Regions from separate parts of the Homo sapiens genome. Here all the other regions are linked to region 1. Evidence: promoter capture Hi-C in 16 types of primary human blood cells and fetal thymus (Javierre and others, 2016). All regions are on one chromosome and are shown on one strand. The core of a region is centred on a gene start or on the middle of the fragment in contact, and the rest is flanking DNA. Distances in the headings are between cores, read along the strand shown.

Region 1 (3,612 bases), core at 378-2,877:
AGAAATTATCTTTAATGTGCTACTAGCTTTAGAAACAGAAACTGTTTACCAGCTTCTTAAATTTCTAAAGTGTGAAGACCTACAAATGTACTCCAATGGCCAAGAGATGCTGCAAAATACTCAACTGTTGTGCCTTAACTTTGAATCCAAATTCAAGGGGCATTCCCCTTCCTGGGCACTATTTACTCTGCTCCAGGAGGCAAGGATTTGAACTTCTCTCCAAATCTAAGTGTCCAAAAGTTTACCGGCATCACATGCCCAAATTTATCACAGAGAAGAGCTCATGTTACAATTCTGAAATATTGTGGTGCATGCAGGCTGAAACTCTGATGTGATCCTGTACCCACCACATGCCGGACTCCTTCCTAGAGTCACAAAAGAGGCCACATTGTTCCTGCCTATACACTCAACCTCAAAATTTGAAAAGCCCCTCTCCCTTCCCTAGTAATCAAAGGAGAATGAATGAAATGATAGCGGCCAAGTTCACAAGGCCAACACAGAATTTCTTTACCAGTTTTTCTCGTTTCTACATGGAACCTGTGTAACAAGACATTCAGTAATAGTAATCTGCTCTCAGAGAAAGAAACAATTAAATACCATACAGCGAAGCTGCTAATACTTTATTTAGGTGCTTTCTGTTCACATTCAAGACAGTCCTAACTCAGCTGGAGTTCCCCTTAAGCCAAATACTAGGAACAGCTTTATCAACCCGGCGTCTGGAACAATCGCTCGAACTACCGAGTTTAGGGGCGGGGGAGAAAACATTCGTGTCATCTGAGCCTTTTTTTTTTTTTAAACTCGCTGCCTGAGACTTCTATAGAGTTCAACAGGGAATCCAAAAATAGCTTTCCCATGACAGTGACAGCCGGAGTCGCCAGGAACGTAAAGGATTTTTTAAAAATTTAAGCAGGTGTTTGCTCCAAGGAGCGGACAACTGCAGGAGGCAATTTCCTTATCTGGGAAGGGGAAAAAGCGGAGTTGAGGGGAGCGAGGTTGAGTAAGGCGACGCGGGGTTTTTTAGGGGGTGGAATGAGCGAGGAAGAGGAGGCCTGGGGAGCAGAGGTCAGGGGACAGGGAACGGTGTCCCCGACCTGTGGGAAGCGTGGGGACAGAGGCTGCGTCCCGACCTGCAGGAAGCGAGGGGCAGGGAACGGTGTCCTCGACCAGCGGGAAGCGAGAGGACAGGGGCGGCGTCCCCGACCCGTGGGAAGCAAGCGGGTAGGGGCGGCGTCCCTGACCTGTGAAAAGCGAAGGGACAGGGGAGGCGTCCCCGACTGGTGGGAAGCGAGGGGACAGGGACTGCGTCCCCGACCTGCCGAGAGCGAAGGGGCGGGGGGCGGCGTCCCTGACCGCTGGGAAGCGAGGCGGCGGCCGCCAGGAGGAGGCGCCTGAAGGAGACTCACCGTTCTAGTGCGCGGGGAGGCCGAACCAGGAGGGCAGGGCTCCCCCACCAACCGCACGACTCCGCTCAGCCAAGGCGCTGGTAGAGGACGGACACAGACACTGCGCGCCGAGACGAGGCTGCTTGGACGGCAAACTCTGGATCCAGTGGGAGCCTTCGCCACCTTCGCTGGCCGCCCGCAGGCCAAGCCCCAGCTGCGGACGCCACTGCTTCCGCCTTCTCTGCTGGCTGCGGGGAGCGAGGGGCAGGGAGCGCGCCGGGGAGGAGACAGAGCGGCCGAGTTCGGAGAGAGTGCCCCCTGGCGGTGATCCTCCAGGCGGACTGTGGCGCGGGCCGGGCGGCGCCCCCAGCCCCGCAGCCTGGCTTTCTTCCTGCTCGGGTGTCCCACCTGGGAATTCGTTGCACCGCACAGCCGAACCCGAGTGTGTCAATGGGTGTGTGTTGGAATGAGGATGGCGACGAGAAGATCCCTCCCGGAATAACTTAATTTGGTGAGCAGTGGCGACAGTAGTAATCCCAAACTGCGCTTTTATAGCACCCCTCTCCAAGCAGGAGAAAACCCCAGCTGGGCTAGATCGCTTGACCTTCAGGAATTCTTAAACCCCTCCCCAGCTCCACCCTCCTTGCCCAGGAAGTTTCTGCGATCCATAGAACCCTCTATTATTACCTGCTCTTCCCCTTCATCCGGTCCAAGGGAGTCAGCCCTTGCCTTAAATATTTCTTTGAATTTCCTGCCAAGAACACCAGCGCTTTGTCTTTCTCTGTCATGGGAAAACTATTTTAAATTCCCTGTTTAACTGGTCATAAACGTCTAGAGAATGTACCACGCGTTTTGCTGGAGAAGCACAAAAGAGTTTCATCCACCTCTGCATATTTGGTTCATCGTCCACCTCTTAGGGGAGGTTTTCCAGGATAGTAGTCATGCGTATGTATCCTGAAGCCAGAATGCTTGGTTCCAATCCGGTTTTTCCTACAATAAATGTGTGATTCAGGTAAAATACTTAATCTGTACTTGTTTCAGTTTTCTCATCTCGTATTAACATGGGGATAATAATAGTATCTACCTCACAGGGTTGTTGGAAGGATGAGATAAAATATGTAAAGAAATTATTTAAAACTATCTGGCCAGGCACAAATAGGCTCATGCCTATAATCCCAGTACTTTGGGAGGCTAAGGCAGGAGGATCACTTGAGGCCAGGAATTTGAGACCAGCCTGGGCAACATAGTGAGACCCCATCTTTACACAAAATTTAAAAATTACCTGGGTGTGGTGGTGCATATCTGTAGTCTCGGCTACTCTGGAGGCTGAGGTGGGAGGATGGCTTGAGCCCTGGCAGTCAAGGCTACAGTAAGCCATGATTGCACCACTGCATTCCAGCCTGGGTGACAGAGTGAGACCCTGTCTCAAGGAACAAACGAACAAACAAATAAACCCAAAACTAGGACATAGTATGGGCTCAATAAATGTTACCAATACTATATGTCCTACTTTCTGGCTGCCAATATTCATTAAAAATGCTTCTCTTTTTAAGAAGAATTTATCACTGGTTCTCAGGTTCTGTCAACCCCCTTTTAAAAGATTGTATTTTGAAACACTTAAGACATAAAAAGAGCACAAACATCTGTGTGCTCACCACCCAGCTTTAAAAAATAAAACATTGCCAGCCTTTGTGTATCCCTCCCTAGAAGCTCCTCTTAAAAATTAAATCTCTTATGGGATGGAAGAAAAGATCATTATATGAAATTGAGAGCTGGAGAAAAGGAAGAGCAAGAGAATCAGAGTTCCCTCCACTTCTTAGTGTGAGCTCTGGGGCAGGTTACATAACCTCCATGAACTACAATGACCAAAAACTATAAAAAAGGGGATAATGTCTACCTTACCAGGCTTTTGTCAGTATAAAATAATAAAAATCTATTGTGAGAGACTCCAGCACCAGGCTTTCAAAAAGATTAGGTGTTCTGTGTATGTTTCTTTACATTGTTTTCATAAGTGCCCTCAAGGGGCCTTTTCCTACTCCTTCAAATCCAATTTATTCAATATAGGAGAGAGTTTTAGTGCTCATCCATGCCTTGGGCACACAGGAAACTTACAAATACCATTTCCCTTTGCAATCAGGCAGGGCCACGTGACTAGTTCTGGCCTGTGAGCTATGACGAGAAGGATGCATATCATTCCTAGGTCAAAGCGTTTTATTTTCATTGCAAGACT
Region 2 (3,612 bases), core at 703-3,202, 240 kb before region 1:
TGGGGTCCTTGACCTCTTGTCGTTGCATGCAAAAAATTGAATGTTCATTTCCTATAGCAGATAAAGAAGAGCTTGGAATTTTTTTTCCCTTGACCTTCCTCGTATCTCACTGGGTAGGCAGACGTAAGATCTCTCATCTCTACTTCAGTTTCAACATTTTCCAAATGGCGCTAGTCACAGAATTATATGTTCCTTGCAAAGTCCTGTGTTGTAAAGAGAAAGCTAGAGAAATATGGGTCCACCTCTTAATGAGACCATTTACCAGCAGATGACTCAATCTCAATGAGCTGGTTTCCTGGTCAATAAAGGGAGGATGATAATACTAATTCTCACACCAACTCTGTTATAGTAGATGAGACAATAAATGCACCAAGCTTTCTACTCTCATCCATTAATAATCAAAGCCTTTCCTATTAGTTGTAACAGTACTGTTTTTAGGTGCATTATATCATTTAATTTTCACAAAAGTCCTATCAAGTAGGTACTACTATTATACTCATTTAATTTAGGAAAAAAGTACAAAGTGGGTGAAAATTGAGATGTAGAAGTCAAGCACCTTACCACTGAGAAGCAGAGCTGGCTTCTGACCTTGGCTGCCTGACTCCTGACAGCATATTCTTAATCTGTGGATTTACCTCCTCCATTCACTCCATACACAAACTAGCAGAGAAGCTGCCAAAACAAAGCACTCCAAGAGCAGGCTGCAAGCTGTTGCCATGGAGATGATCTGGTGAGTGAAGGGGGAATCTTCACACATGGAGTCCCTGTGAGGCGTGAGGCACATGACAGAGATGATCTCATTTGGTTAAACTCGAAGGAGTGCCTTCATCATAGCTCTTGTAACAAGCACATACTGATGATTAGCCTTGCTTCCTTTTTATTTATTTTTATTTTTTGAGACGAGTCCTTCTCTGTCACCCAGACTGGAGTGCAGTGGCACGATCTCGGCTCACTGCAAGCTCTGCCTCCCAGGTTCACGCCATTCTCCTGCCTCAGCCTCCCGAGGAGCTGGGACTACAGATGCCCGCCACCGCGCCCAGCTAATTTTTTGTATTTTTAGTAGAGATGGGGTTTCACCATGGTCTCGATCTCCTGACCTCATGATCTGCCTGCCTCGGCCTCCCAAAGTGCTGGGATTACAGGCGTGAGCCATTGCGCCTGGCCACCTTGCTTCCTTTTGTTCTACGTAACAGGTGAAAACACAGAAAGTGGTGCGATTCAATTGCCTGATTTCATGTCACACCATGGGTCAAGGGCTTAGCTGGGAATTAGGAAGTTGGGATCATCTTTAAAAACTAGAGAAGGTACTGGCCAAAAGCTTCAACTTGGGGACAAAAGAAGCTACAAAAATCATGGAAGTTTTAGAACTGTTGTTTAGTTCCAATTATTCCCACTTCTTCACCTAGGAGTGGCTGCATTAGATGAAGGAAGAGGGCCCTGGTTTCATGAAGAAGGGAATTAGCACCCATTTCAGACTTCCTACACTGAAGAGGGGTTCCAGTATGGTGGAGGGGGCTCAGGGAACACTCTGGATGGACCATGCTCTGTGGGCTCTGCCTGGCTTCCCTGACAGAGGAGCAGGAACTGCTGGCATCACCTGTCCGATTCCCTCCATGTGTTCTGGGATTGGAAATGAACTAATTAGAGCTAATGTTGGAAATAAACTTACTTATTGGATAGGCTGCATGATTTGGGCCTGAATTTCTCAAACAGCTATGCAGAGGCAGCTGACGATGCAAATGTTCCCTCACCCTGCCATGGTGGTAATTAAGTTGCACTCAGGAGCTTTTCAAAGATGGGGGCTTCTGCTCTCCAGCTTCAGAAAGAGAAAGAAGATGAGTGAGAACAGCGGGGGATCTGGCTGCTTCTTCCCAATCCAACTGTAACTTCTGGATGGCAGTAGCCCCCTGCTGTCCCCACCATCCTGCCTGTTGTCAGCTGCAGCTGCAAGGGCAGCCTGCATATGGGGAGACATTTATCACTCATGAGCAGCTGGGTCATGGCAGTGGCCCTGGCAGCTGGCTGGATCATTTACTGGCCACGGCAGAGAGTTGGTCTCGGATGCGGCCCAGGCCATCTAACATGGTGTCCAGTGTTTCTTTGCTCAGCTCCACGGTGACAGCTGAGATGGAGGGTTTGTCTCCGCATAGGCTGGGATCTTCTTGGATCTGAAACGAGAACACAGCCCAGAAAGTCAAAGCTGCCTCTTTTCCCATATCCCTGTAAGTGAGCCCTGAACCTGCGAGGCTGAGCTCAGTTCTGCTGAACCTCTGAAGAGAGGCTCTTTCCTAAGCACTAGAGAGTACCAGCCCTTGGGTCATTTAGCAGTAAGGGAGAGTACAGGAGATACCTCAGAGGCCTGGGTCAGTCTCCATTTGCAACAAGTGCCTTGGGTAGGTATCAAAGAAGGCCAAGCCAAGGCTCACTCACCTCTCTGATACCCTAACTCTCAGCATTCAAGCAAGAAAACATTACGTGTGTTTACATTGGTACTTTAAGGAGCAGGTTCTGTTGGATACTTCAGACAATCCTGCATTGGGATGCAGGAACAATCTTACAACCTTTAGTTTTAAAAAATAAAGAAGTTAAGCTTCACTAATATTTAAAACTTAATTGCTAGAGGCACCCTTCTTCATTTTCTTACAAGTGGTAACTTTCTGGGTGTCTGGTTATGTAGATACAGCATTACATTTCTAGTTTTAACTAAACAAACACTACAATATGGATATGTAGCTTAAAAAGATTCCTGAAAATAACTATAAAATGAAGACAACACCAATGAAGCAAAGGTATGTGAGCAAGAAAATGAAGACCTGACACTTCTCCAGCTGCTAGTAGAAACTTTTTTTTTTTTTTTTGAGACGGAGTCTCACTCTTTCACCAGGTGGGAGTGCAGTGGTGTGATCTCGGCTCACTGCAATCTCCACCTCCTTGGTTCAAGCGATTCTCCTCCCTCAGCCTCCTGAGTAGCTGGGACTATAGGAGCCCGCCACCACGCCCGGCTTATTTTTGCATTTTTGGTAGAGATGCGGTTTCACCATGTTGGCAAGGATGGTCTTGATCTCTTGACCTCATGATCCACCCACCTCGGCCTCCCAAAGTGCTGGGATTACAGGCGTAAGCCACTGCTCCCAGCGACTAGTAGAAACTCTTGAGCAGCCACATTACAAATAATGACAGCCTAATCACTGGACAAGAAGTTGCTGAAGTACACTGAAATGATCGGGCAGGCTATTCAAAATCTGGAAGCACACTACTATTGTTAAAGCTAAACTGCTAAGAGTATAGGGTTACCTTTAGGTATCAGCAAATTATTTTAAAAATATGTTTTGTATTTGTTTTATTGTTTTAATATGTCCATAGTATGTTACTGCAGTAGTACACATACACGTTGTAACTAAACAAAGGAGGATAAAGGGGATGGTAATTTAAAAAAATATATGGGTTAGAGATCCCAAACCTTGGAGACTAGTGTTTTAGACGGCCATAGGGGTGCTGCCTCTTCTTTCTAATGGCATGATAGTGAATGTACCTTCATCTGGAGCAGGCAGGTGGGGACGGCCATGCGGCTGATGCTGTCTGAGGAGGTTTTGATATCCACTCTCCAGTCCA
Region 3 (3,612 bases), core at 462-2,961, 220 kb before region 1:
TTGAATCCTTTGCTCTGGGGAAAGCAAACTGCCATGTTGTAAACAGTCCTACAGAGAGGCCTAGGTGACAAGGAACTGAAGCATCTGGCCAACAACTTCATTACTGACCTGAGAAGCAGATTGTCTAGGCCCAGTAGAGCCTTAAGAAGGCAGGAGTCTTGGCCAACAGCTTAACTGCAACCTCATGAGAGATTCTGAGCCAGCACCACCCAGCGAAGCCACGCCTGGATTTCTGGCCTTCAAACACTATTAAGATTATCAATGTTTGTTGTTTTAAGCTATGAAGCTTTGAAGTAATTTGTTATACAGCAATAGTAACTAATGCATGGTGGCAGCAAAGCATAGGGGTTTTAGAATTCAACCTGAGTTGGAATCCTAATTCTACACATTATTAACTTTTCCGTGTACAAATTCTTGAACTTCTCTGGGCCTCAGTTTCCACCTCTGTAAAATGGTGTTCATCACACCCATCTAGTTCAGAGAGCAGAGCTGAGCGACAGGAGCTGCTTCAGTGGGAGGATTCCCAGCTCTCCTTACTCTCGCGGGCTGGTATGATATGAATGGCACCATGTCATCCCATTTTGGTAGGGCTGCCCAGATTGCCAATGCCATGTTGCATGTAAAGGTTTGTCTGTGGTCTGCAGAATGTCCAGCAATTTCTAAACCATAAACATTTTCATGGGTGGGAACAAAACAGAATGTCGGAGTTCATTTCTGTGATTTGGTCCCATTGCCTGGTTTTCATTAGGCCAAACCTAATTTCTTTCCAATTCTGAATATAGGAATCAGTGCTGACTTTCATTTATTTAATAAACTTGTTATGTGCCCGGCTCTGTTCTAAGCCCTTACATTTACTGATTAATTTACTTCCCATTCCTATCCTATGATATTATATATATACGTATGTATATACATACACACACATATGTACACACACACATAAGTACATATACATATATAAGCACACACACTGTATTGTTTCCATTTTACATATGGAGAAACAGACATAGGCAGATTAAGTAGTCTGAGGTCACACAGCTAAGTAGTGGCAAAGCCCAGATTCAAATATGGCCAGTCTGGCTCCAGATTCTGCACTGTTAACCGCCAAGCTGTACATGTCTCCTTGTTGTCCCACAGCTGTAAATTTGTGTTTCTTCTCTTTGCATGTCTGACTACCTTCCTCAGGCAGCAAGAACAATCTAAGAGTGTTCCTGTACAATCAGTCTGGTGATGGTGAGAAACAATATAATGAGTGAGTGGAAGGGCTACCTTGGGCTTTGGGAAAAGACCTAGGTTCAGTTTCCAACTCCTGTGTACTGTTAGCAAATTACTTCCCCTCTTGGAACCTCAATTTCATCATCCGTAAAATGGGAACAATAATAAAAATACCTTTTGGCCATTAGGGGGAGCTCAAGGATGACTTATACCCCAAAAGGGGAAGGATTGCTTATGTGGATTCTCAGTTCTAGTCATTGGCAACGCTAAAGGGCAGAGCTTTCCCCTGTTGTGGGCAAGGGTTTGCACGAGGGGGACTGGCCATCCCAGTTTTCCCAGGGATGAGGGGTTTCCTTGGATGCAGGACTTTCAGGGCTAGCGCTGGGACAGTTCTGGACAAACCAGGCCAGTTAGTCACCCAAGTTTGAGCCCTGAGCCTTGGGGGAAACCAGCCTTTTGGAACACTTGCCCTGATTTCTCCAGTGGGGCAGATATGAAGCAAGGGATATGGACACAGAATTTATTAGTAGAAAATGATTAAGGGCAGCAATCTTAGTATTGAGGGTTTTTTTATAGTAGCTTTATTGAAATAGAATTAACATTCACATACCATACAATTTATCCATTTGAAGTGTAAAATTCGATGAATTTTAGTATACTCACAGAGTTGTCCAACTATCACCACAATTAATTTTAGAACATGTTCATCATCCCCAAAAGAAACAGCATATCCTTTAGCTATCAACACCCACCTCTGCCCCCAATTCTCCCCATCACACCCAGCCCTAGGCAATCGCTAATCTGCTTTCTGTCTCTATGGTTTTGCCTTCTGGACATTTCCCATGAATTGGATCATATGATACGGTTTCTCCTCTTATACTAAGTAAAGGAAACGAGTACAAAAGACCACATATCATATGTTTTGTACTCGTTTCCTCTACTTAGCATAAGAGGAGAAACTTCTTCAAGGTTCGTTCATGTTATAGCCTGTATCGGTACTTCATTCGTTTTTTGCTGAATAATATTTTTTTGTACAGATATACCATAGTTTGTTCATTCATCAGTTGTAGACATTTGAGTTGTTTCTACTTTTTAGCTGTTGTGAGTAATGCTGCCATGAGCAATCATGTACAAAGTTTTTGTGTGAACATGTGTTTCATTTCTCTTGGAGTATACACTGAAGAGTGGAATAGTGGAGTTTCTGGGCCATATGATTACTCTGTGTTTAACCTTTTGAGGAAGTGTAAGACCATTTTCCAAAGTGACTGCACCATTTTACAGTCCCCAGAAGCAATGTATAAGGGTTTCAATTTCTCCACATCTGCACCAACATTTGTTTAAAAAAAAAAAGAGACAGAGAGATGGGGGTCTCTGCTCTTTTACCCAGGCTGGAGTACAGTGGTGTAATCATGGCTCACTGTAGCCTCAAACTCCTGGGCTCAACTGATCTTCCCACTTCAGCCTCCTGAGTAGCTGGGACTACAAGCATGCACAACCATACCCAGCTAATTTGATTTTATTTGTTTTAGAGACAAAAAATATGTTTTGTCTCTAAAACATATGTTTGCTATGTTGCTCAGGCTGGTCTCAAACTCCTGGCCTCAAACGATCCTCCTGCCTCAGCCTTCTGAGTAGCTGGGATTACAGATGGGAGCCACTGCATCTGGCTCTGCCTTTTTGATTATAGTGATCCTAGTGGGTATGAAGTAGTATCTCATTGTGAGCCGTCTTGTTTTGAAGTTGCATTGGTATATCAAACACATTTTGTAACTGGTTCTGTCTTTTTGATTATAGCAATCTTAGCGGGTATGAAGTGGTATCTCATTGTGAGCAGTCTTGTTTTTAAGGTGCATTTGCATAGCAAACACATTTTGTCACTTACGCTACTTTGGTTCATTTGAGGTAACTGATGAAGGTTATGGAAGCTTAAATAAACTCCTATTCTCCCCTTTGGTTTCACTACTAAGTCCTGGCTGCCTTCTTTGTCAGAGGAATGCCTGCAGGAGGTGGATTAGGCCCAGGGTCCTGCAGTCCTTTAAGGAGAGCCCTTGCCACCCTCCTGTTATTCCCCTAGTTTCCCTTTTCCTCACCTTTGTCTCAGTCCAGAGATGAGGGTGGGTTGCAGGGGGAAAGGGCTGATCAATCTTTTTGACTTTATGCCCCCTTTGTGGCTTTGACGTGGCCTGATCAGCTCACCAGTCGTCTTAGTCCATATGGGCTAATATAACAAAATACCATAAACTGGGTGGCTTTATCAACAACAGAAATGTGTTGCTCATAGTTCTGGAGGCTGGGAAGTCCAAGACCAAGGCATTGGCAGATTCTATGTTTGATGAGGACGGTTTCCTGGTTCACAGATGGTGTCTTCTCACTGTGTCCTCAAATGGTGGCTGTGGG
Region 4 (3,612 bases), core at 663-3,162, 200 kb before region 1:
CTTCTTCTTCCTTTTCTTGTATTGCTTATCTCTATTTTCTCACAGTGCTAAAAAAGAACATGTAATAATTGTGTAATGTTGAAAAAATAAAAGTACTCCCCACATTTCCCTTTGCTACGTCCAGGGGAAGAAGAGAGGGACAGTTTATTCCTAGAGTTTTCTCCTTGGAATGATGAAATTTTTCTTGAAATCTCTTTCTTTTTTCCAGCAAACTTTCCCCCACAGGCACACTGTATGTCTCACTGGCCCAATCTAGGTCACTTACCTACTTGGGAACCAATCATTGGCAAGGTGAATGGAATTCCCTCTCAGTCTGTCCCTGGGGTTTGTGCTGGAGGTGGGTCATTGTCCCCTGAGGGGGAACATTTCCTGAGAAAAATTGGGATTTTATTAGGAAGAAAGAGGGGAAATGGATGTTGTAGAGTTGAAAGGAAGAACCAATGTATCCAGCATTGGTAGAGACTCAAACATGCAATTGTGAAACTCAGTAGCCTGTTTATAGCTGCTGTGCCATTCTGTGTCTTTGCCAAGACTTCCATTGCTAGAAATTGATTATTGAGGATGGAGAATATAAGTCGTCCACATCTGCTCTTTCTCTCTATCTTCAGGCCCCAATCCTCAAAGAAAGGGGATTTGAAAGTTTGGTTTGAGGCAGGTTTTTAGAAGTGAAGTAGTTGATTTTTGAAATGCCATGGTCTCCACTAGATAATTTCTACCTTGCTGTCTCTAGCCTGGAAGAGTGCCATTACACATTCCCCCTGGGTGTCTCAGGAAAGGTCACTTTGGGATGGTCTCCTCCTCGCAGCTTATGGGACTAACTTGATTAATAGTATTGCATTTTAGATTTAGAGGACTTTGGAAAGACCTGCTTGACCTCCCTTCGTGGGAATCACAATTTTAGCTGATGTGATAGATTGAGGTATTGTTCAGTAAATCTTCACTCATTTCCCTTCCACCTTGGGACACAGTACACTTCCTGAGTCACTGACTCTGGGCTTGGGCATTGACTTGTTCTGGTCAATGGAATGTGATCAGATATGACTCTATCAGAGGCTTTAAATAATGCTTGCACTGTTTGGCTTGGCCTTCTGCTATTCTGACAGCCAACAGAAGAGCATAACTTGGGTAGCCACTGCCCTTTCTCCCTGTGCTCCAGAATTAGTCACATGGAACAGACACAAACCTGAACTAAGGCAGAATTGCCCTAGTCAACCTGCAGATCTGTAAGTGAGAAAAAGAAAGGCTTATTTTCCTCAGTCACAAAGTTTTTATTTTGCAGCAGTATTGCAGCAATAGTAGACGGATACAGGTGAAATTTGAGGGCATTCAGCAAAGTGTATGGAGAGTGTAGACAAATTAGATAAGCTGTGAGAATATGTCTCATCGAAGCAGCTCCTGGAATAACAAGTGTTAAGTATGGCTCAGGGAGGGAAAGACTTGGAGTTGTTTTGGTGAGTTTCTTGGAGCAGCCTAAATTCTAAGAACTTTCTATAAACTGTTTTCTGACCTATTCTCACCAAAACAAGCATCAACGCCAAGAAATTACTAAACCATGTGTTTCATCATCAATACGCAAATGTAGAATAATGTAGAAGAAAGAGCACTAGACATGGTGAGGTTTTGGACCACAGCTGTGTACTAGTTTAGCTCACGTCTAGTCTGTGGCTTCAGGCATGTCATTTAATTTCTCTCAACTTTACTTTCCTCACCTGCAAGTTAATGGTAGTTTTAAGAATAAAATTATCAGGCATATCTATGGTTTTCAAACTGTACATTTAGTGATGGGATTTTCTTCAAAGAAAATCAACAGGTAAACCTGAGAACTGAATATCACAGTCAGTTTAAACATTCCTTATTTGGAACCAAGTCTTTTACTGTTGGTGGTAGTGAGCATGATGGTGGTGGTGGTAGTGGGGATGATGATGGTGGTGGTGGTATATGATTTCAAAGTCTCCAAAAATGTTTCCTTGTCTTCTCTTTCTTCCAGATCCCTCTCACTGGCTGTGATCTGAAAGCCACAATTAAAGATTTTGTATGTGTGTTTTGGCACACTTCTCAGATTAAAGGGATGAAGAGACTCATCCATACTCAACAAGTCCACCATAATGACAACACAGTCACTTTTACAGTTCTATGATGTCTCAAAGTGTCTGTACATCACCCATGATTATCCCGTTAGTTATGTGGCAATTCTTTGACTCCATGTCAAAGAATGACTCCATCATCCCCACTACCACCACCACCATCATCCCCACTACGACCACCACCATCACTATTAGAGCAGAACAATTTACCATCCTGACCTGGAAGCCTGTTGTGTCCTCTCAAAAGAACACATCATCATTCCGTGGCTTGACATAATGCTGGGCTTCTTTACTCATATGTGCTACAAATGGTACCCCAATTTACTCTGTCCCCAAGGGTATTCTCGGTTCACAACTCTGTCTGACAGTGAATAACAATAAGTACGATCAGTTGTTGCAAAAATAGATTTTACCGTTAGATCAAAACTTGGCAGCAAGCGCATCAAGAACTCCCGTGTGTCCAGCCCACTGCTTTAGAACTACTGCCTTAAGTATATTTCCACTTTGAAACTCACTCCCCTGATCCTTAGGAGCTGTTTACACTTTAATAAGAATGAGCCCATTAGAGTCCACCCAGAGAGCATTTAATAGGGGCGAAGTAGAGCCTCTTAGTTTGAATTCACTCAGGAGCAGACCCTGAGACAAGGATACAAATGCAAGTAATTTATTTGGAAGGTTACTGTTACACAAGTAAGGAAGTTAGGTGGGCAAGGGAAAGTAGCCAATAAAAGATGAATTGTCAAGAAAATTACCCATGTGGGTGACTGAAGCTAAATCCTACCAGGGGACTCCCAGAACCAGCATGGAACATGCACCCAAGAGTTCTCCCACACAAGAGGAAAAGGACTTGCAATATTTATACAGCAACTTCCTTAGTCACTGGTTAAGAATGTTCTCAGGGGCTGGGTGTGGTGGCTCACGCCTGTAATCGCAGCACTTTGGGGGGCCGAGGTGGGCAGATTACAAGGTCAGAAGATTGAGACCATCCTGGCGAACATGGTGAAACCCCGTCTCTACTAAAAATACAAAAATTAGCTTGGCATGGTGGCGTGTGCCTGTAATCCCAGCTACTCGGGAGGCCAAGGCAAGAGAATCGCTTGAACCAGGGAGTCAGAGGTTGCAGTGAGCCGAGATTATGCCACTGCACTCTGCCTGGTGACAGAGTGAGACTCCGTCTCCAAAAAAAAAAAAAAAAAAAAAGAATGTTCCCAGGAATATCAGTCCTGAATTTTCTGGCCTTCCATGTGCATGAGCATAATGCACCCCATAGCATCAATTACAGGGAGAATGGGAGGAAGGAAGAGCTTGAGAATGCAGCAATTGAGTTTAGGGAAGGAAAGGATGTCAAGGGTGTTCAAAGTTTCTTAATTCTCATTTTGTTCAGTGCTAGTCCCATTCTAAGGCGTGGCTGCTTGGCATAGCAGTTTTTAGTAAAAACCTTAAAGAGGTAGAAGAAGAAATATCACCTCTTGGTGACATATCTAGCACCAACAGGACATTTTCACAACTTCAGGCAAGCATTTCTGGC
Region 5 (3,612 bases), core at 612-3,111, 170 kb before region 1:
GGAGGAGGCAGGCAGAACATGAGAGGGAATGTGGCCATGAGGTTCGAGGAGAGAGCACCAGCCTGGACAACCCTTCTTCCCATGGGTACTTAGTGAGCTGCCTCAGACCCAGCACATCCAAATGTGGCTGATTTTGTATCACCCTCACCATTTTTGCCATATCTGCCAACCAACCAGGCATTGTTTACTTAAAAAATAGACTCTCTTTTTCAAACTTAAATGTATTTTAAAAAGAAAACTAATTGTTTTTTTTAATTTGAGATGAGGTCTCTGTTGCCCAGGCTAGAGTGCAGTGGCACGATCACAGCTCACTTGCAACCTCCTTCTCCTGGGCTCAAGCAATCCTCCCACCTCAGCCTCCCAAGTAGCTGGGACTGTAGGCATGCACCATCACACCCGGCTAATTTTTGCATTTTTAGTAGAGACTGAGTTTTGCCATGTTGCCCAGGCCAGTCTTGAGCTCCTGGGTTCAAGTGATCTGCCTGCCTCTGCCTCCCAAAGTGCTGGGATTACAGGCTTGAACCACCGCGCCTGGCCTTTTTTTTTTTTTTTTTTTTTTAAGGTATAATGCTAGCGCTGGTATGTCAGGGATTTTTCTGTGTTGCTCTCTGCTGTATTCCCCTAGTGCCTAATCTAGTACCTGGTAGGTGCTTAAGTAATGTTTGTTGAATAAATAAACGTCATTCTCATCAATAGAAAAGCATGTATTTTTCTAAGATGTGTTATAAACATATAGCTATTACAATTAAAAATGTCTGCTTCCCATTTAGAATCCTCTTGCATGCCACCTGTAATACACCTATGTACCATAGTTTTCTAAACTGCATAGCAATTGTCACTGAAGAAATTATCTCATATCATTATTTACTTATTGGCTTTGTCCCTCATAGATGGGTACCTCTGTTTCTTAAGAGTTTTGTCGACCTCTGTATCCTGAGCATCTAGCACTGTGTGGGGGCACATTACAGGTATACTACAAACATATATAAATAAATAAATATCTTTACAGTTATCCTGGCATGTAAATTATTATCTCCATTATCATATAGATGAAGAAGAAACCAAGACATAGAGGAGTTAGGCCATAAAGGTTGTTGCTAAAAAGCAACAACCTTTTCAACATTTTCAAAATGCATTGTATTTGCCACGGTCGCTGGGTCATGGGTCATTCCCCCATGGGTCATCCCCCCAAAATTAATAACCCCCAATGCAATAGTATTAAGAAGGAGGGCCTTTCAGAGGTGATTAGGCCATGAGGACTCCATCCTCCTGAATGGGATTAGTGCTCCTACAAAAGGGCTTAGAGAAGTCTACTTGCCCCTTCCGGCTTCTCCCCTCTTCTGCCACGTGAGGACTCAGCAAAAGGTGCCATCTATGAAGCAGTGAGCAAGACTTCACCATCTAGCCCTCTAACATCTTGATCTTCAACTTCCCAGCCTCCAGAACTGTGAGCAATAAATGTATGCTCTTTGTAAATTACTCAGCCTAGGGCATTCTGTTACAGCATTCCAAATGGACTAAGAAAATTTTCTTGTGTATTTATGACTTTTTAAAATCCCAATTCTTAGAATGGTTTTACCTCCAAACAGGTTTCAGCACATGCTCATTTATTCTTCTTGCCTAAATGGCTGCACTCAACTTCCTCTCTGAGCTCTTAGCCTCCTTGCGTCCTTCCTGCACAGTTGCTGCCATATTGTTCCGCATGGTATCCTCCACACCACATATTCATCTTACAACCTGCCTGCTCCTAAACTTCCAATGGTTGCCTGCTGCTCCAGGACGAAAGTGTGAAGTCTTTGGCTTGCTCATCAGTTATGAATAATTTCAGGCACAGGTTAAGATCCAAAATAATAATGGCTTATATCACAAAGAAGTTTCTTTAATGTGAAACAGTTCAGAGGTCAGATGTCCCAGGCTGATATATTCATCAGGGAGGTTGGTCCCTTTCTTTTCCTTTCATCATCTTTAACATTGTGCCTCATGATCTAAGATGGTGCCAAAGTTTCAGCCATTATGTTCACATTCCAGAATTTGTGCATAGGACTTTCCTTTAAGTCTTATTCTTTAGAACTTTGTCACGTGGCCATACCCAGCTACCAGTAAGGCTGATAAATACAGTCTATGCTAGGAAAATAAATTAGATGTCTTGTTAAAAAGGAAGAAGGGGAGACATCTAGTAGTCTCTACCATAGCCTGGCATTGAAGGCCTTTCTCAATCAAGTATCAACCCAGCTTTTCAGGTTTCCTTTACTTACTTGCAGTTCTTAATACTCTATCCCCATTGAGCTCCTTTGTTCACAGTCTCTAAAACACACCTTGTATTTGTCACTTTCTCTCCATTCATTCACCCCGCTTGAAATGCTTTCTTGCTTGACATCCAAGCTGTAATTTTGTTTCCATGATTCTTTCCCGTAATTGCTGGAATCTGAAATGACTTCTGACGTGGCACTCTTCTAGAAATGACCATGAGATCTCTTCAGATAATCACTCTCTTCTGCCTTGGATTTCTCTTCTTTGGATTAGTTGAAAAGCTAAAATCTTTCATTGTTAATTTTTTACACACTTAGATCTTACCCCTCACTTCAACCCCTCATTCTAGATTCCCTGACGGCAGGATCCCCTTATGTAGGGAATATTTATTGGCCTCATAGTTCACATGTGACATCATGCTCTGTGTTGGGAATTTTGTATGGAATAAGATGTTGGACCACTCCTCAAAATCCTCATATTGCCTATGAAATCTGGTTTTTTTGAGACAAAGTCTCACTCTGTTGCCCAGGCTGGAGTGCAGTGGCGTGATCTTGGCTCACTGCGACCTCCGTGGTATGGTTTGGCTGTGCCCCACCCAGACCTCTACTTGAATTGTATCTCCCAGAATTCCCACGTGCTGTGGGAGGGACCTAATGGGAGGTAACTGAGTCACGGGGGCCCGTCTTTCCCGTGCTATTCTCGTGATAGTGAATAAGTCTCATGAGATCTGATGGGTTTGTCAGGGGTTTCCACTTTTGCTTCCTCCTCATTCTCTCTTGCCACCACCATGTAAGAAGTACCTTCTGCCCTCTATCATGATTGTGAGACCTTCCTCAGCCATGTGGAACTGCAAGTCCAATTAAACCTCTTTCTTTTGTAAATTGCCCAGTCTCAGGTATGCCTTTATCAGCAGTGTAAAAATGGACTAATACACTCCACCTCCTGGGTTCAGGCAATTCTCCCACCTCAGCCTCCTGAGTAGTTGGGATTACAGGCGCCGGCCACCACACCCAGCTAATTTTTGTATTTTTAGTAGAGACATGGTTTTGCCATGTTGGCCAGGCTGGTCTGAAACTTCTGACCTCAGACGATCCACTCACCTTGGCCTCCCAAAGTGCTGGGATTACCGGAGTGAGCCACCATGCCTGGCCTTGGAATCTGGTTTTAAAACTTGTATATATTAAGTACTTTGTAAATCCCTGTTGGTTTATTGAGGAATAAAAGCTGACACTTATTTAAATTATTATAACATATTCACAATAATATTTATTAACTTCTATGTGCTAGGCACTATGCTAGTCTTTCATGTATATCATTTCATTTCTTTCTTTTGACATCTAGGAGGTACACACCATTAATTTT
Region 6 (3,612 bases), core at 370-2,869, 150 kb before region 1:
TAGTGCTCAGGGCACTGGTTAAGGGCTTTGGCACCTGGCTAGATTTGGAGATGTTTTGCATTTTACTTATTGACAATCCCTGATACATCAGTGCTTGGATTTTTAGTAATCAGTGGTTGGATTTTCAGTAACGTGGACCCACACTGACTTGCAGGCTCATATTCTTGTGGTTGGATGGTCCTTTATCTAATGCTAGGAGAACTGCATTTGAGTCCCAGTGCTGCCATTAAATAGCTGTGTGTGATTTTGGACAAATAAGTCACTTCATGTCGCTGAGCCTCAGTTTCCTCATCTGTAAGTGGCAGATTTGAACTAAAGATCCAGGGGTCCTTTGTACGTGAAGCGGTATTAACTTCTAATGAGAATAGAAGGATGTTCTGCCATTTTAGGTGAAAGATTAATCCTCTTATTGAAAGATTTTGTCTTAGCGTGGGAGAGAGGCCACAGTCACTTCCTTCGGTGTTGGAGAGAGAGGTGATTTGACCAGAATTGTAATAGAGTCCACATTATATTTATACAAGTGTATACTATTCTTTGAAATGGATTAATTTGTTACTGGAGTCTAGGGCATTAATTTTAATTTTAATTTTTTTACATATTAATTATCATTTTATTCTGGTGTTTTGTTCTTTAGGAAGACACAAATGTTTGTGATCAAATGCTGACAATCAATAATGATGCAAAGATGTCAGCAATTAGTGTAACACTTTCATTAAAACGTAGAAAATAACAGATAAGATACAGACATGATGATTCCAGAGCAGATGCCATGAAGACACTAACAGTATGTCCCAAAGGAGCGGATCAACAGAGACAGAGACGGGATAAATCCAGACTGGTCTATAACAGAAACTATAGGGCATTGTTTTAAATACTTCAGAAGCCTGGCCGAGTGCAGTGGCTCACCCGTGTAATCCCAGCACTTTGGGAGACCGAGGTGGGTGGATCACCTGAGGTCAGGAGTTTGAAGGCCAACAGGGCAAAACCCCATCTCTACTAAAAATACAAAAATCAGCTGGACATGGTGATGCGCGCCTGTAGTCCCAGCTACTAGGAAGTCTGAGACATAAGAATTGCTTGAGCCTGGGAGGCAGAGGTTGCAGTGAGCCGAGATCATGCCACTGCACTCCAGCCTGGGCGACAGAGTGAGACTCTGTCACACACACACACACACACACACACACACATACACACACACCCACACACACACACACACACAGACACACAAAACAGAAAACTTATGTTCTTTATTAGCTAAATTCATGCCTGAATCTCAGGAGAATCATGAAATATTGCTACCTTGTGTCTAGTAGAATGACAATGACATACTGTTCTTCTCTGGACAAGTCTACCTATTATTAGTGGGATGGTTACCTCCCTAAGTGTTGAGTTCTCAGGAAGGAGGATCAAATGGGATATCTATGTGCTAACCATCAGTTGCTAACAGTATTTAATAAGCATAATTTTCTCTAACCACCAGAGTTATAAAATATAACTCAGCAAATGCTTAGAGTGCCTACTATGTATAAGGTACCAAACAGGAAAATGGGGACGAGAGATGTCAGTTTTGCTGATCAAAGCCTGTCACCCAATAAAAACCCAAAACAGGAAACCATGACAAATATCTGACTATCTGGTGTGCAGCCATTTGGAACACAAAGGGGTATGTGCACATGTAACATCGCACATGTAACACACACACCCACATGCATGCAAGCCATCAGCTCAAGGCGTATGTGTGTGCATGCATAAATGCATGTGTGTGTGTATGTTTAGGGTCAGTGTGGAATAATAGGCTGAATAAGAGGGTAAGGTTTTATGATATACACCCAGGGGGAAAATCTGTGTAAGTCATGCTTTTATCTTGTTAGGTATATGTTATTACTCAAGAACACTTACACCTGGTGATCCAGCAGCTCAAACACACATACATGCACACACTCCTAACTTGATATCACCCTGGTGTACACTAATTGTCTTAAGCCACTCATTTGATTCAAGAAGCAAGTATAACTCTACAGCAGCAGTTCTCGACATGTGGTCAGAGACCCCTGAAGTTGCCTGCAGGAACTGTGAAGTCACGCAGGGCCCCATGCTCAGAGCTCAGTTCAATGTTCTGCTGTGGCTGTCTTGAAATGCTTTATAACTTTTGGACAAGAAACAGCACTTTCACTTTGCACTGGTCCCCACCTATGTAACTCATCTTAGTTGCTTGAGATCCTTTTAGGAGGTCCATGAGCTCAAAACTATTTTAACAAGACTAACAACATTAATATATTATTTGCCTTTTCTACTCTGATTTTCACACAAGTATACAGTGGAGTTTTCCGGAGGTGACATGGCATTGGTATTGCAACAGACTAAGTGCACAGCAGATACGAGAATCCAGATCTCTTAGGCCAGATATTCAAGAGATTTGCAGAAATAAAAAACAAAGCCACTTTTCTTGCTATATATACCTTTTGCTTTTGGAAAATATAGCTATTTTTCATAAAAATACATTACTTATGTTAATTTGTAATGGCTTTTAAAATTATTTTTAAATCGATTAATAAATAACCAAGGATTTTCTCAGTTTTAGTTTCTAATATGTTAAGTATCAACAGATATAACTTATAAAAACAAAAGACTTTAAGGCTCATAATAATTTCTAAGACTTTAAAGGGTTACTGAGTTCAAAAAGTTTGAGTCACTGATCTCTAGGTATTTACTGTTTCTACCAGAGGAAAGAAATCATTGTGGGAATGTGATCAAACGATAGTGTGTTTGCTTATACTTGTTCATTTATGTGGGCAAATCAATGTCTACTGAAAAAAATGAGGTAAAGAGACAACCTTTTTCATTACCCTTGGACTTCTGCAGAATTTTCCTAAGTGTGACCTAACACAAGTCACTTGTTTTTACTTGTTTTTCTCCTTTGTTTTAGAGCAGCAGGTTCTAGGTTATATCTAACTCTTGTGGTTTTCTAAAATGGAATGGCTGTTAAAGAGAGATCGCGAGCCTCTCTTCCCTCGAGGGGCTTGGGAGAGGTGATACAGACGATTCCAGCATGAGGCACAGTTGGATAAAGTGACCTCTGAGGGTCCTTTCAGTTTGGAGGATGCTAGTAGAGAGAGTCTTTTCCCTTACCAAGTTCAAAGTCGGGGGGTGCTGAAGTAATAACAAATGAGTACATAAAAGGCAAAAAAAAAAAAAAAAGACATTCTGTCAGCACGGAAGCAGCAGGCAGTCACCAGAGACTCCTGCCTTCCATTGGCGAACCGGTCACCGGCTCCGTCCTGAAAACAGAACTTGCTCCGAGTGATGTAGGCAAGGGAGAATGCTTCTGATGGGAGGGCAGGGCAGGGTGGGTATGGGAATCGCATGCTCTCATTCTTATGACTCTGACTCACTGAAACGGATCCCTCCCTTCCCTTTTTGAGGACCCTATTCCTTCACTTTTAGCACCAAAGTGCTGACGTGCCTTTTCCCCACTTGTCTTTAGAAAATCTATCTTGCAAGTGAATGCTAAGGTGCTGGGCTATTGACAGTTTCACACATCACCCTTGGCGGGGTGGGGGTGGGCGGACGGGGGCGGTGGTTGGTGGGAAACAATGACAAGGAGAACCGGAG
Region 7 (3,612 bases), core at 641-3,140, 130 kb before region 1:
GGTGGGTGGGGGGCGTCTCTGGGAGGGGCCGGAGTCATAGGCTCAGCAACCGCGCAGGATTGAGCGAAAATTACCGCGCGCTAATCTGACGGGGCGCGGCGTGGCGGGGGTAGGAGCTAGGGAAAAGTGTCACGTTTGGGGGGGCAACCAGGTGGGAACTCCTGCATGGTTAAGGATCCTCCGATCGGACGCTGCAGGCAGGCGTAGGGGATCTTACTCGAGACCACCATGGTGGGGAGGTGGGCAGGCCACGCTCCCGGTCTGCTCTTTAGGGTGGTTGAAGTACCGCCGTGAGGTGGGATGCGGATGCTGGTGATCATGGGACCTAGGCTGAGCCGGGAGGTCGAAAAAGAAAGTCGGCTTGTTTGACTCTCTCGTTCTCCCTCTGGGGGGCAAATCTAAAGAGCTGACCCCGCTTAAGCACGGGAGATTTCGCGCCTGCAGCAGCCTTTTCCCGGCGGTCCCCCTTTTTCTGGAGGGAGGCGTGGGAGAGAAGGGCAGGGCAGGGAGCCACTTTGTCCCGTGCGCTGCTGCACGCGCGCGCTCTGCGGACTAGGGTGGGCCAGGGCCCAGCCAGTGGGGATCCCGCCGGGACGGGCTGTGAGCAAGCCCTGGGACGGCCCGGCTGCGGACCCCGCGCTGGGAGTCCGCAGTATCCCCCTTCCGTTTTATTTCTCCCGCCTGCCTTCCTTTCGGCGAGGCTTTCCTCTGCGCGCTTACTGTGCGCGCATGCCGGGCTCGCTGCACGCAGGGGGCGCTCTAGGGGCCCCGCCCGGGCAGCTGGGACCCTGCCTGCCCAACCCTCCGGCCCATTTTCCTTGAGGCCGCCGCCCGGGGTGGGACCAGGCTGTGTGCTTGCTAACTGTGCTTCAGGAATCCGCTCTGGGATGCCTTCCTGTCTGGCAAAAGGGGTTACCCCCAGTTCTACCCAGTCCCTGTCCTCGGTCACATGCTGCCGCCGCCTCTTCCCCCGCGGTGCCGGGAGCCCGCGTTTTGTTTGTCAGCAGTTAGGCGGTGAGTATTTATAGACGCCACGGCAGTCCTGCGGTGCGCAAGGTTTCAATTACTGCGATGCGCCCCACAAGACGAAAGGTTCACGCGCTGCGTCTGAGCTGCACGTCTGCCCCGGAGACCCGCGTGGAAAAAGCTCTGGGCTGGAATCTCCGGGCTTCCCTGCTTGGGCAGAATTCTGGACCTGTTGCCCAGACGACACGTGCACATTCAGATGACCCATGCTAAGGACCAAAGGGATGCCACCGGCCCAATGTACTGCCTTCATCCCCCACCATCCTCAAGGGACCCTTGCTGATCAAGCCCGGGAGACTACCCTTTTTGACCTCTCTTTGGTGATCCTGACCACCGTAGAAATTTGCAGTCATGACATTTCATTGCCCTACATACTGCAAAATGTCAAAGTGCTGAGCTGTGGTAAATTGCTCTGGGGTGGAAGGCGCTGTTACTGACAACACGAAGCAGCTAGCGGGTCAGGAGGGGAAATGGAGCTTGCAGAAACTAATTTAGCCACATTTAAAATTTAGCCCCTGGTAAGGTTCCCAGTATGACTGACGAAGGTGCAGGGCTCCTGTCTGTGGAACCTGGCTGGTTAGTCTTCTCTGGTTGCAGCCCTAGAATCAGGATCAAGGGTGCTGTTTAGAGCGGTTTCTGTAGCATGTAGCCTTTCAGATAAGGGAAGTGATGCTTGGTCAATCCACAAAGTTGTCTTCAGTTTTTCCAACTGCAACCATTGTTCTTTGAGTATGTTACTGATGCTTCTAACAACTGGAACCACTAATATGTAAAAGAAGAAAGGCACTAGAAATAAGAAAGTCTAACTAGCTTATTTCTCAAAGGCTTAGTTTAGACTACTTTGTTTCTCAAGGGTGGGACCTCATTTCTTTCAGGTCCAGAGGGCCATGGATATATATTTATTTCTGTGGGTGAAATTTCAATAATGTTCTGTCTTAGAACATTACAAATATGTGCCACTTGTTTTAAAAAGGGGAAAGGTGCAAATGCCTCTTGAGGTCTTAATGATGTCTTAAACTTTGCACTGAGAGACTTTGATAATATTATATACTCCTCATGCAAACAATGATATAGGTACTATTATATCCCTATCATATAGATGAGCCCACTGAGGCTTGGAGAATTTAAGTAATTTGTCTAAAGCCATACACACAGGGATGGAGCTGAGAATGGATTACAGATTTGTTACTCCAGACTCATAGTCTGGACATGTCTTTCCCTTCAATTCTCCATTGTTGATTAGCTCACGTTATAGTTGATTAGATGGATGGCTTTTTATTTATTTTCAAAATTTCACAGAATGTTACAAATTGGCTCAGTTATTGGGGAAAAAAGCCCTAATCTTGTCTTTAGAAAACTGTTATATTGGTTATCTGAAAATCTCTTGCTGATAGTCCAGACCTAAATCATAATCCTCACTTTGCTCCTTGACTTAATGTATCTTCAGCATTAAAGCCATTTATCTGTAGAAAATTGAATTCAGTAAGGACTTTGTGGATTACTTAATTTTTTCAGATTTCTCCATACTAATGATTTGTAGGTATGCATGTGTCTGTTTTCCTGTGGCTGTTCCTTTTGTACAAGGTAAAATATGCTGAAATCTCTCTTAAATTGCAGCCTTTTTCCTTTTCATTCTTTTTGCAGAGCTAGACCCAATACAGAATTGATTTGAAAAACAGTGTGTGAGTTCCTCTGAAAGATCCTTACAATGTCTAATGTTCATCATTAAAGGTTTGTTCTCAAGAGTTGCCTCTCTGTATGTAAAATGTAAATACATGTTAAAGGCAATGCTTGTAGAAATGACCCTTTGTTAACAAGTCAGTGTGAATTAATATTTTAGTTGCTGAAATATAGGAATAAAATATTTTGTGGATTTTGTACAGAATATTATGGGGTTTGGAATTGGGGAACAAAGAGAGCGGTACCCTGATAAGCAGAAAGCACTGTTTTACAAGAGAAGATTTCACATGGAGCCAAGGAGGGGGATGGATGGCAGTGATGGGGCATCAGAGGTGAATTTGAGTTAATTCACATTTTTGTCAGTACCTGGGGATCCAAGATTTACTTTGAAACTTGTACAGTTAAAACAAATGAGCTGACTTATTTATTGGGCAACTTCTGTGAGTCAGGTATAGCTATGGTAATGGTATTTGCGCCTCCCAACAACTCAGGTAGGAAGGTATTATTTTCTCTATTTTCAGATGAGAAAACAGAGGCTCAGAGAGGGTTGTTAATTTCCCAGTGTCACACAGCCATGAACTCAAGCGTCTTGCTCTTTTCAGTACATTTTGATATCTACCCTTGAAGGCCTTCCATGGAGAACCCAGGGTCCCAAGTTCTCAAGAAAATCCTAGTGGTTCACATGGAAGTTTCTGGATCAGAAGTCAAGGCCAGAGCTATTCAGGGACTCTAAAATGAGGAGACAGGAGGTGGGTGAACAATGAAGCCTGAAGGGATAGTCTGGATAATTCTGACAGTAGTGATGCCACAGAAGAAGGAAAGTCAGGCGCTGTGGATATTGTGAATATAGAGAATTACTAGCATTGGCCTGGGCGAGGATGGCTGTCGCATTGCAGAACACACTAG

Evidence for each region. Contacts are between HindIII fragments. The CHiCAGO score rates a contact against its expected background, and 5 or more counts as called.
Region 2: a fragment that was not itself captured here is called in contact with the fragment with the promoter of TRAF6 in region 1 in 11 of 17 cell types (neutrophils, non-activated CD4 T cells, total B cells and 8 more); the score reaches 14.8 in neutrophils.
Region 3: a contact is called between a fragment that was not itself captured here and the fragment with the promoter of TRAF6 in region 1, in 17 of 17 cell types (neutrophils, total CD8 T cells, total B cells and 14 more). The highest score is 24.8, in neutrophils.
Region 4: a contact is called between a fragment that was not itself captured here and the fragment with the promoter of TRAF6 in region 1, in 2 of 17 cell types (neutrophils and non-activated CD4 T cells). The highest score is 10.0, in neutrophils.
Region 5: a contact is called between a fragment that was not itself captured here and the fragment with the promoter of TRAF6 in region 1, in 1 of 17 cell types (neutrophils). The highest score is 6.2, in neutrophils.
Region 6: a contact is called between a fragment that was not itself captured here and the fragment with the promoter of TRAF6 in region 1, in 1 of 17 cell types (neutrophils). The highest score is 7.0, in neutrophils.
Region 7: a fragment that was not itself captured here is called in contact with the fragment with the promoter of TRAF6 in region 1 in 1 of 17 cell types (neutrophils); the score reaches 6.0 in neutrophils.

What each region holds. Positions count from the first base shown.
Region 1 is chr11:36,508,645-36,512,256 of GRCh38, forward strand. TRAF6 (TNF receptor associated factor 6) reads right to left here and starts at 1,628. Exons shown (of 7, transcript NM_004620.4): 1 at 1,404-1,628. It also overlaps a transcript of RAG1 not described here. RefSeq lists an enhancer at 1,447-1,496. The HindIII fragment of the contact is 10,105 bases long and covers 1-3,612 here.
Region 2 is chr11:36,272,605-36,276,216 of GRCh38, forward strand. It overlaps COMMD9 (COMM domain containing 9), which reads right to left. Exons shown (of 6, transcript NM_014186.4): 5 at 3,533-3,612; 6 at 1-2,168. The coding sequence ends at 2,028. Among named protein-coding and RNA genes, the nearest start is that of COMMD9, 15 kb to the right of the region's middle. The HindIII fragment of the contact is 1,272 bases long and covers 1,317-2,588 here.
Region 3 is chr11:36,291,078-36,294,689 of GRCh38, forward strand. No RefSeq gene overlaps it. Among named protein-coding and RNA genes, the nearest start is that of PRR5L, 3.4 kb to the right of the region's middle. The HindIII fragment of the contact is 2,854 bases long and covers 285-3,138 here.
Region 4 is chr11:36,307,733-36,311,344 of GRCh38, forward strand. All of the region lies in intron 1 of PRR5L (proline rich 5 like), which reads left to right. Among named protein-coding and RNA genes, the nearest start is that of PRR5L, 13 kb to the left of the region's middle. The HindIII fragment of the contact is 4,413 bases long and covers 1-3,612 here.
Region 5 is chr11:36,335,993-36,339,604 of GRCh38, forward strand. The region is part of intron 1 of PRR5L (proline rich 5 like); the gene reads left to right. Among named protein-coding and RNA genes, the nearest start is that of PRR5L, 42 kb to the left of the region's middle. The HindIII fragment of the contact is 3,974 bases long and covers 1-3,612 here.
Region 6 is chr11:36,358,877-36,362,488 of GRCh38, forward strand. All of the region lies in intron 1 of PRR5L (proline rich 5 like), which reads left to right. Among named protein-coding and RNA genes, the nearest start is that of PRR5L, 64 kb to the left of the region's middle. The HindIII fragment of the contact is 8,514 bases long and covers 1-3,612 here.
Region 7 is chr11:36,376,711-36,380,322 of GRCh38, forward strand. The region is part of intron 1 of PRR5L (proline rich 5 like); the gene reads left to right. Among named protein-coding and RNA genes, the nearest start is that of PRR5L, 82 kb to the left of the region's middle. RefSeq lists an enhancer at 485-1,056 and a silencer at 650-799. The HindIII fragment of the contact is 4,948 bases long and covers 1-3,612 here.